2 separate regions of the Homo sapiens genome follow, and region 2 is linked to region 1. The links are contacts of gene promoters, found by promoter capture Hi-C in blood cells and fetal thymus (Javierre and others, 2016). All regions are on one chromosome and are shown on one strand. Each heading gives the region's core, a stretch centred on a gene start or on the middle of the fragment in contact. The rest is flanking DNA. Distances are from core to core; before and after follow the strand shown. Region 1 holds the start of CARMIL2 (capping protein regulator and myosin 1 linker 2). Region 2 overlaps CTCF (CCCTC-binding factor).

Region 1 (5,563 bases), core at 43-2,542:
GAATAGCTTCCTGGTAGGGGGTTAAGGAGAAGGGGGCAAAGGACTTCCAGCCTCTGGGATGGGAAGCAGCCCTTCTCATGCACTCCCTCCTCCCCTGCCAGCCCCTCGAATTTGCCAGGCCTCACCCAAGGGTCGAGCGAGGGAAGACCTTCTTGATGGCTGCAGCCACGTGCTGGGCCAGCTGTTCCAGGGCGGCCACACCAGGAAACTCCAGGACCAGCTCACGCAGGGACTCCAGCTCAAAGGTGACCTAGGGAAGGGGCACTACTAGGCCTCGGCTCCACACATGGGCGCAGGTGATGGTGGTAGCATGAAGACCAGGCTGCAGGCCCAGGTAGGGTACTAGGTGTCTCACCTGAGGGGGTGTCTCCTGCAGCGCCATGGCCTGGACCTCCAGGTAGCTGAACGTGCAGTCCACCTAGAAAGGGCCTAGATCAGCTGGGACCAAGCCCCCAGCCCCGCCCTCATGGAAGTCCAGTCCTTTGGGCAGCCTGGGGCAGAGCCAGATCTGCCTGGACTCCCCTCCTGTCGGCTGCCCAGAGCCCAGTGCTGGTGCAAAGTCAGGGCCCACAAGGCCAAGAAGGACCACTCTGCAGATGCAGCCCCCTGCCAAGGTAGCTGCTGGCGGGCGGGGGTGTGGCCAGGCCCTGGGACTCACCCTCAGCGGGAGGCAGGTGGTGTGCAGCAGGTAGGCTCTCCATCGTAGCAGTGCCTGGGGAAAGACAGTCTGATATCCTGGGCAGAGCAAGAGGCTCTTTCTGTGGGGCCACAGCCGCCTCCCCGGCTCTGTCCCCTGCCCCATACCAGGACATGGTTTTGCACAGCACCCTCCCCGGGTAGCCAGGTTTTCAGCAGCAGCTCCACCTCTTTGGGCCACAGGAACCTGGTGATCTCGCCTGTGGAAGGGCAGCCTGCTGGGTGACTTCAGTCCTTGCACAGAAGCCACTGGTGCCCACAGTCTGTGCCAGGCTGGGGCCCTGGGGCTTATCTGCGGCCAGCGAGGAAGGAGGGGAGAGGATCTGGGGCGCCTGCCCTCCTGGGGAGCAGGGAGGACCTCTGACCAGGCCCTCTGGGGCGCTGGGTGGGCCTCTGATTTTGGGGCTGCACTACTTCCTCCCGGCCAAGAAGGCAGGAAGGGCCAGCGCTTACCTCGGAGCTCACAGGAGATGCCGTCGGGGGTCTGGGCCATGGGCCGGGCGGGCCGGGGAGGCCCAACGAGCTCCGGCGGGAAACAGCAGAGGACGAGCGCGCACACAGGAAGCCTGGGGCCCAGACCCGCACGGCAGCCACCTGCTCCTCCGGCGGCGGAAGGTGCGCGCCGCTTCCTGCCAGGCCGCCCCCGGCCCGGCCCCTCCCCGCCCCGGCCTCGCGGCTCGAGAGCTTGCCCGGGAGCGGGGTTGTGGGAGGGGGGCCGAGTCCCACCTGCCCGCCCGCCCCGTCGCCCAGGAGCTTCTCCGCCAGGGTAGACGTCGGGGTGGGCAGTGGCGTGGCCGGGAGGGTCGCGGGTGTGGCGGGCCTCCAGCGGGTCCTTGCCCCCGGCTTCCACCCCGCCCCGCAGTCCCTGCCGCGAACACCAGGGGACGCTGCCTGCCTGGGGATCCCCGCGGCCCACCGGGGCTGGTCCCCTCCAAAGCCCAGGCTGCGGAGGTGGACGAGGCGCCTGGCAGAAGGGGGACTGTTCAGCAAGGAGCGCCCGAATTCTGCCAACACCGGAGGTCCTGCCCGTTGCTCCGAACCTGGAGTCCGTGACCCTGTTAGGGATCCAAGAGATTTTGAATGGGTGGGAAAAAATGTCAGATGGGGCCAGGCGCGGTGGCTCACGCCTGTAATCCCAGCACTTTGGAAGGCCGAGGAAGGAGGAACGCTTGAGCCAAAGAGTTCGAGACCAAGCTGGGCAACATAGGGAGACCCTGTCTCTGCAAAATAATTTACAAAATTAGACGGCGTGATGGCGTGTGTCTGTAATCCTAGCTACTTGGGAGGCTGAGGTGGGAGGATCACTTGAGCTTGGGAGGCAGAGTTTGCAGTGAGCGGAGATCGCACCACTGTACTCCAGCCTGGGTGACAAAGCCAGGTCCTGTCTAAAAAAAAAAAAAAAAAACAGCCTGATGGGTCCAGACGCCCTTCCTTGCCGCAGAGGTGGGGTCAGGGCCGAAGGTGAGGGTGTACCCGGAGCCTTCGGGGGGAAGCCTGGGGCTAAGGTGAGCCCTGAACCCCAAGCACTTCATAGAGGGCCGGAGTGAGTCGTCCAGGTACATGAGGGTCTTCTTGTGTCTGCCTTCTCCCCAGGCTGGAGAGAGTTTGGGAGGGGGCAGCCAGAGAGAGAGAAATAAGCCAGTGTCTCCAGGGCTGAGAGGGGTCAGACAGTCATAGGGTGGGGCCTGGTAGCCTGTTGCCCTCTCAAAGACCAGGACCTAGATTCTGGAAAGTTCACAGGAAGAGACTGCATTTTTTTTCTTCTATTACAATCTAAACTCCACTTAAGCGGTAAGGAACAGCAGTCTACCCTGCCCATAGCTCAGCAAGGTGGAGGTGAAATGACAGCTAAGGGTGACAAGGAGGAGTCAGCTGCAGAAGATGCAGCACAGAGAGTTCCTGCTGCCTCCCCGATTGAAGAGACATACTTGGTTTGTTTGTTGGTTTTGAGATAGAGTCTTGCTCTGTGGTCCAGGCTGGAGTGCAGTGGCACAATCTTGGCTCACTGCAGCCTCCGCCTCCCAGGTTCCAGCAATTCTCCTGCCTCAGTCTCCCGAGTAGCTGGGATTACAGGTGCCCACCACCATGCCTGGGCTAATTATTATTATTATTATTATCATTATTATTATTATTATTTTAGACAGAGCTTCGCTCTTGTTGCCCAGGCTGGAGTGCAGTAGGGCGATCTTGGTTCACTGCAGCCTCCGCCTCCCAGGTTCCAGCAATTCTCCTGCCTCAGTCTCCCGAGTAGCTGGGATTACAGGTGCCCACCACCATGCCTGGGCTAATTATTATTATTATTATTATCATTATTATTATTATTATTTTAGACAGAGCTTCGCTCTTGTTGCCCAGGCTGGAGTGCAGTAGGGCGATCTTGGTTCACTGCAACCTCTGCCTCCTGGGTTCAAGCAATTCTTCTGCCTCAGCCTCCCAAGTAGCTGGGATTACAGGCATGTGCCACCACACCCAGGGAATTTTTATGTTTTTAGTAGAGACGGGGTTTCACCATGTTTGTCAGGCTGGTCTCCAACTCCTGACCTCAGGTGATCTGCCCACCTCGGCCTCCCAAAGTGCTGGGATTACAGGCGTGAGACACCATGCCTGGCCACGAAGAGACATAATTTGGATTAAGATCTAAGGCTCTAAGACCACACAGAACCCTCAAACTGCTTGTAGGGTGACAATTCAGTAGGTCTCACACAGTACTGCCAAGGAACCAAGAATGCAGGTTCTGGCCAGGTGTAGTGGCTCATGCCTATAATCCCAGCATTTTGGGAGGCCGAGGTGGATCGCCTGAGCTCAGGAGTTCGAGACCAACCTGGCCAACATGGTGAAACCTTGTCTCTACTAAAATACAAAAAGTTAGCCAAGCGTGGTGGTGGGCACCTGTAGTCCCAGCTACTGGGGAGGCTGAGGCATGAGCATTGCTTGAGCCCAGGAGGCAGAGGTTGCAGTGAACCAAGATCTCACCACTGTACTCCAGCCTGGGCGACAGAGCAAGACTCCGTCTCAAAAAAAAAAAAAAGCAGGTTCTGCAGGCACACTGCCTAGATTTTGACACTGAACACATTGCTTAGCCTTTCTGGTCTTCCAGTTTTGTTTGTAAGCCGGAGCTATTAACTAACCTCAAGCCTTGCTCAAAGGATTCAATGTTTATTAAGGGAAGTGCCCGCAACAGTGCCTGGCACTCAGATAACACTCACATTTGCCAAGTCTACCATGACAACCCAGGGATTCCAAAACAGAATGGCAGAAAATCCACCTCACTGGGATTTTTCTGTTTAGAATGACAAGGAGGAGAGAGAAATGAGAGTGACTGCCAAAAGGGCTGGAGCCATGCCCAGGTGGAGGGCCTCTGGAGGCTGCAGCGATGCCAGTGGGGCCAGTCCCTGTGTGTGTGAGCACATGGGGGCAGGCAGGGACAACTAAGAGATCTGGACAGGCTTGCAGGGCTAGCCACGTGGCTGATGGTGGTCAGGGAGGTAGTAACACAGCAAACCTGATCTCAGAGACCAAGTGAACACATGGGACTCGGTTCTTACAAGTGACAGTGACTCAGTGAGAAGCTGTCAGCTTGTTCAAGCCCGTCTGTGTTCTGGATGGCATGCCACTCCATGGGCATTCAGGAAATGTCAAAGCTCCCGAGAGCATCAGCCTCGCCTGCTCTGGGTAGCACAGGCTGAGGGCGAGACTTGCCTCCCAGGTGGGCCGGGCTATGCCCCCTTGGTGCTGCCATAAGGCTCACCACAGATGATTTTCAAAGACCAGGTCCTGACAAGTCAGAGAAGGGTTCAGGTACTTGCTGAGCTGGGCAGCAATAGGGTGATGCCAGCCTAGGGGTGAAAGGGGCAAAGGTTCTTTACTTCTGTGGCTTAACACTGAGGGAGCTGCATGCAGGTTCAGGAACTTCCCTGTCAACAGAAGCAGTAACACAACTGGCTTCTGCTGCTGAATGTTTTATAATTAAGGGACAGACAGGATGCATCCTGGGCTATGCAGCAGGAGGATCCCTTTTCAGCCTTAACTCCATCAGGATGTCAATTCTCTTGCCCCCTCTCCAGCTAAAACAAATCCACTTTTAAACTTTTTTTTTTTGAGACGGAGTCTCGCTGTCACCCAGGCTGGAGTGCAGTGGCGCAATCTTGGCTCACTGCAACCTCCGCCTCCCGGGTTCAAGCAATTCTCCTGCCTCAGCCTCCCAAGTAGCTGGGAGGCTACTTTTAAACTTTTAAACTTTCTAACAGAGGGCCGGGCATGGTGGTGCACGCCTGTAATCCCAGCACTTTGGGTGGCCGAGGCGGGCGGATCATGAGGTCAGGAGATTGAGACCATCCTGGCCAACATGGTGAAACTCCGTCTCTATTAAAATACAATTAGCCAGGTGTGGTGGTGCGTGCCTGTATTCCCAGCTACTGGGGAGGCTGAGGCAGGAGAATTGCTTGAAACTGGGAGGCAGAGGTTGCAGTGAGCCGAGATCACGCCACTGCACTCCAGCCTGGCAACAGACCGAGACTCCATCTCAAAACAAACAAACAAGCAAACAAACAAACAAAAACCTTTCAAACAGAATGTATACAATCAGGAATGACAGGCTGTGTTGAATGAAGATACAGAAAAACTGAGCCTCATTGTTCTGCAAAGAGGTTATATATGCTTAGGTGGCTGGGAATGGTGGTTCATGCCTATAATCCAGCACTTTTGGAGGCTGAGGCAGGAAGATCACTTCAGTCCAGGAGTTTGAGACTAGCCTGGGCAACATAGCAAGATCCTATCTCTAAAAAAAAAAAAAAAAAAAAAAACCCTAAAAAAACAAAAAAAACAAAAATGAGCCAGGTGTGATGGCATGGCCCATAGTCCCAGCTAT
Region 2 (5,043 bases), core at 695-3,194, 54 kb after region 1:
TATAAAATATATATTAAAAACCATATATTAAAATATAAAAAAGATATACAAATATATAAATATAAAATATATATTAAACATTTATACATATATATATAAATTTTTTTTTTCCAGATGGAGTTTCACTCTGTCACCCAGGCTGGAATGCAGTGGCGCGATCTCGGCTCACTGCAACCCCTGCCTCCAGGTTCAACCGATTCTCCTGCCTCAGCCTCCTAAGTAGCTGGGACTACAGGCACATGCCACTGTGCCCCGCTAATTTTTGTATTTTTAGTAGAGACGGGGTTTCACCATGTTGGCCAGGCTGGTCTCAAACTCCTGAGCTCAAGTGATCCACCCACCTCGGCCTCCCAAAGTGCTGAGATTACTGACGTTGAGCCAGTCACCAACGCCTGGCCTCTGTAAGTATCTTTTTTTGATGTTGTTGTTTTTGAGACGGAGTCTCACTCTGTCACCCAGGCTGCAGTGCAGTGGCACGATCTTGGCTCACTGCGACTTCCGCCTCCTGGGCTCAAATAATTCTAATGTCTCAGCCTCCCGAGTGGCTGGGACTACAGGCGCATGCCACCATGCCGGCTAATTTTTATATTTTTAGTAGAGACAGGGTTTCACCATACTGGTCAGGATGGTCTCAAACTTCTGAGCTCTGGTGATCCTCCCACCTCAGCCTCCTAAATTACTGGGATTACAGGCATGAGCCACTGTGCCTGGCCTTATTTATTTTTTTAGACAGATTCTTGCTCTGCCACCCAGGCTGGAGCGCAGTGGCACAATCCCGGCCACTGCAACCTCTGCCTCCAGGGTTCAAGCAATTCTCCTGCCTCAGCCTCCTGAGCAGCTGGGATCACAGGCGTACACCACTATGCCCAGCAAATTTTTGTATTTTTAGTAGAGACAGGGTTTCACTATGTTGGCCAGGCTGGTCTCAAACTCCTGACCTCAGGTGATGTGCCCGCCTCATCCTCCCAAAGTGCTGGGTTTACAGGTGTGAGCCACTGCGTCCAGTCGATAGATCTTTACATTAGAAAAATGTTGACTGAAAAGCTTAGTCTGGTATTCTCACTATACAGAATGTTAAATGACATTAGGACAAGGAGGGGAAAAAAAGCAATTATAAGTCATCAGGTCGGGCACAGTGGCTCACACATATAATCCCAGTACTTGGGGAGGCAGAGCCAAGAGAATCGTTTGAGCCCAGGAGTTCAAGACCAGCCTGAGCAACATAGTGAGACCTTGTCTCCATTAAAAATTAAAAAAAAAATTAGCTAGGTATGATGGCATCCATCTGTAGTCCCAGCTACTCGGGACTGAGGCGGGAGGATCGCCTGAGCCCAGGCTGCAGTAAGCTATCATCACACCACTGCATTCCAGTCTGAGTGACAGCGCAAGACTCTGTGCCCTTACTGCCCCCCCCCAAAAAAAGTAATCAGTTTTTCCTGAGGATGAAAGGAAAAGCTAAGTAACTTTTACTAGATGCAGGACACTAGCCAAAACGAATAAAAGTTATTAACTCTTTTAGAGTAAAAGCTAGGTTTAAAAGTTAAACAAAATAACCATTTTACTCTGCTATTCCTGAAAACATATACGCCATCATCTTATCTGAGAGCTTAAAATACATCAAAGCAAAGTATCAGTGAACTAGTACCAGGAAAGTTGTAGACTACAATAAAGAATGAGGAGGAGTTGAATTGGGAGAATAACTTGGGCTGAGAAGCAGAAAAATAATAGTGACCATTTCTTTCACAGTGACTGGGAACGGAAGCAGCCTTTATCTGAAAAAGCACTCATCTATTTAATCACAACTGTACCTCTCACTTCTCTGACATTAATTTTCATTTATTTTTTGAGACAGAGTCTCGCTCTGTCACCCAGGCTGGAGTGCAGTGGTGAGATCTTGGCTCACTGCAATCTCTGCCTCCTGTGTTCAAGCAATTCTCAGCCTCAGCCTCCTGAGTAGCTGGGATTACAGGCACGCATCACCACGACTAGCTAATTTTTGTATTTTTCGTAGAGATGGGGTTTCATCATGTTGGCTAGGCTAGTCTCAAACTCCTGACCTCAAGTGATCTGCCCGCCTCGGCCTCCCAAAGTGCTGGGATTACGGTGGCTCACGCCTGTAATCACAGCATTTGTGTGAGCCACCCAGTCCAGCATTTTTTTTTTTTTTTTTTTTTTTGAGACAGAGTCTCACTCTGTCATCCAGGCTGGAGTGCAATGGTGCCATCTCAGCTTACTGCAACCTCCACCTCCCGGGTTCAAGCGATTCTCCCGCCTCAGCCTCCCAAGTAGCTGGGATTGATTACAGGCACCAAACATCATGTCCGGCTAATATTTGTATTTTTAGTAGAGACAGGGTTTCGCCATGTTGGCCACGCTGGGCTTGAGCTTCTGACCTCAGCTGATCCACCCTCCTCAGCCTCCCAAAGTGCTAGGATTACAGGTGTGAGCCATCACACCTGGCCGATCACCGTGCTCGGCCAATTTTTAAAAGAACAGTTAGGGCCGGGCACGGTGGCTCACGCCTGTAATCCCAGCACTTTGGGAGGCCGAGGTGGGCAGATCACAAGGTCAGGAGATCGAGACCATCCTGGCTAACACAGTGAAACCCTGTCTCTACTAAAAAAATAAAAATAAAAAATTATAAAATAACAGGGCTTTTTGTATGTGTGTGTGTAGAAATAATTAAAAGGGAAATGAAAATGTTTCTTCTAAGTTAAAAAAAAAGTTAAGAGCATTCTAGTATTTTGTTAACAATCTCCCCTCCCATTTGTTAATATTAAAGGGTATGGTCAAAACAAAACAATTATTCTAACAGCTACTTGAAGAAAGCCCACTGAAGCTTTGAATCTAGGAAATACGTACTAATAAAATATTTGTAATGGCAACAGTGAAACTAGTATGGGAGGAGGGGAAGGAGTTCTTTTGCTACAAAGAATAATAAAGGCTAGACAATAATTCTTTCGCCAAAAGGTGGCTGACGCTGCTGTAGAAAGGAACTCTCTTCTTTAAAAAAAAAAAAAAAAGTTCTAACTGTTCTTTTTCTTTTTTTGAGACGGAGTTTCGCTCTTGTTGACCAGTCTGGAGTGCAATGGCGCCATCTTGGCTCACTGCAACGGCCGCCTCCTGCGTTCAAGTGATTCTCCTGTCTCAGCCTCCTGAGTAGCTGGGACTACAAATGCCCACCATCATGCCAGGCTAATTTTTGTATTTTTAGTAGAGATAGGGTTTCACCATGTTGGCCAAGCTGGTCTCAAACTCCTGACCTTAGGTGATCCAGCCATCTTGGTCTCCCCAAATGCCGGTATTACAGGTGTGAGCCACCGCGTCCAGGCTCTTTTTCAAGTTAATGGAAGAAATCGGGTATTAGGTGTTGAAGCGTCATTTGGGGCTGGAGGCAGGGAAGGGAGAGAGAGTACAAGCATATGTACTAGGGGTAGTCTTCAATCAGTACTGTGCTAAAGCTGACTCCCAGATAAGCTTTGTCTTCTGCACGAGGTTCAGTTCTTAGGGAGCTCCTTGTCTGGCAGGCAGAAAGAAAAACAAATAGCAGCTATATAGTGTGATGAGTACTGTAACAACGGTTAACATACTTCCTACCACCCTGGCATAAAGGATGACTTCAGTGGGTGAAGGGCTTTAAGGAAAGGAATTGCTACAGCTGGATATCAAATGATGAGGTGGACCTTGCCTGACAAACTACAGAACAGGTGAACGGTATATAACAAAAATATGTATGGAATTAGACCAATTTTGTGCAGAAGAAATTTAATGTAACTGAGTGGAACTGTATTAAGCCATCTCAAATTAATATTATTATAATTATTTATCTTTTTTAAGAGGTGCGGTCTTGCTCTGTCTCCCAGACTGGAGTGAGCGCAGTAGTGTAATCGTAGCTTGCCACAGCCTTGAACTCCTGGGATCAAGTGCCTCTCTTGCCTCAGCCTCCTGGGTAGTTGGGACACTACAGGCATGCACCACTGCACCCTACTATTTTATTATTATTATTTTGTAGAGGTGGGGTCTTGCTTTGTTGCCTCGGCTGGTCTTGAGCTTCTGGCTTCAAACAATCTTCCTGCCTCAGCCTCCCAACATGTTGGGATTATGGGCATGAGCCATTACACCCAGGCCTCAAATTTATTATTTTGAGGCTGGGCACGGTGGCTCACGCCTGTAATCCCAGCATGTTGGGAGGCCAAGGCGGGTGGATCACTTGAGGTTAGAAGTTCGAGACCAGCCTGGCCAACATAGCGAAACCCTGTCTCTACTAAAAAAAAATACAAAAATTAGCCGGGTGTGGTGGCGTGCACCTGTAATCCCAGCTACTTGGGAGGCTGATGCATGAGAATCGCTTGAACCCAGGAGGTGGAGGTTGCAGTGAGCTGAGTTCACGCCACTGCACTCTAGTCTGGGGTACAGAGTGAGAATCTGTATCAAAAAAATATATATTATTTTGATGTGGTTTCAGAGCCCTCTGTTAAGGGTAGCCTGTTTATTTCACTTATTGAACATTTACAAAGATAATGCTCATCTGTGAGTCAACATTGGTGCCATAGTACCAACAGGAGGCTGCCTCCCAAGTACATGCTGTCCTCTCTCTGCTCTCCATAGCCCAAATGACACTTTTGCTGGTGTAGAGTAACCTAAGCTTCACTTTCTGTTCCCCTAATAAGAGACTATGTTAGAGACCACCAGATCCCTCCTTGCCACACTGCAGACCCATATCCCTGGAAGCAGCTCAGAGTTAGACCGTCTTTGGAGCAGCCCTACAGTCTTTTCATCACTTGGAATAGGAGAAAGACTGAGAATCTATAGCAAGTCTATCACCTTGAATAAATGTATTACAAAATAGGAATAAACTACACACACATAATGCAGGATTTACACAACACCTAACAGGTACTTTTATGAATTTTGGACAGATGCTGCCTGAGCAATGATTCCCAAACCTATTCTGGTGAGCTTTAAAAAATATAGATCCTGGCTGGGCGCAGTGGCTCATCCCTGTAATCCCAGCACTTTGGGAGACCGAGGCAGGTGAATCAC

Evidence for each region. The method cuts DNA at HindIII sites, captures the fragments that hold promoters and counts their contacts. A CHiCAGO score of 5 or more calls a contact.
Region 2: a contact is called between a fragment that was not itself captured here and the fragment with the promoter of CARMIL2 in region 1, in 4 of 17 cell types (endothelial precursors, M2 macrophages, M1 macrophages and 1 more). The highest score is 7.3, in endothelial precursors.

The regions. Positions count from the first base shown.
Region 1 is chr16:67,640,873-67,646,435 of GRCh38, reverse strand. CARMIL2 (capping protein regulator and myosin 1 linker 2) reads right to left here and starts at 1,292. Exons shown (of 38, transcript NM_001013838.3): 1 at 1,150-1,292; 2 at 805-896; 3 at 659-712; 4 at 356-418; 5 at 126-250; 6 at 1-10. The coding sequence starts at 1,189. RefSeq lists a silencer at 1,209-1,598. The HindIII fragment of the contact is 10,344 bases long and covers 1-5,563 here.
Region 2 is chr16:67,588,094-67,593,136 of GRCh38, reverse strand. All of the region lies in intron 2 of CTCF (CCCTC-binding factor), which reads right to left. Among named protein-coding and RNA genes, the nearest start is that of CTCF, 28 kb to the right of the region's middle. The HindIII fragment of the contact is 1,795 bases long and covers 1,047-2,841 here.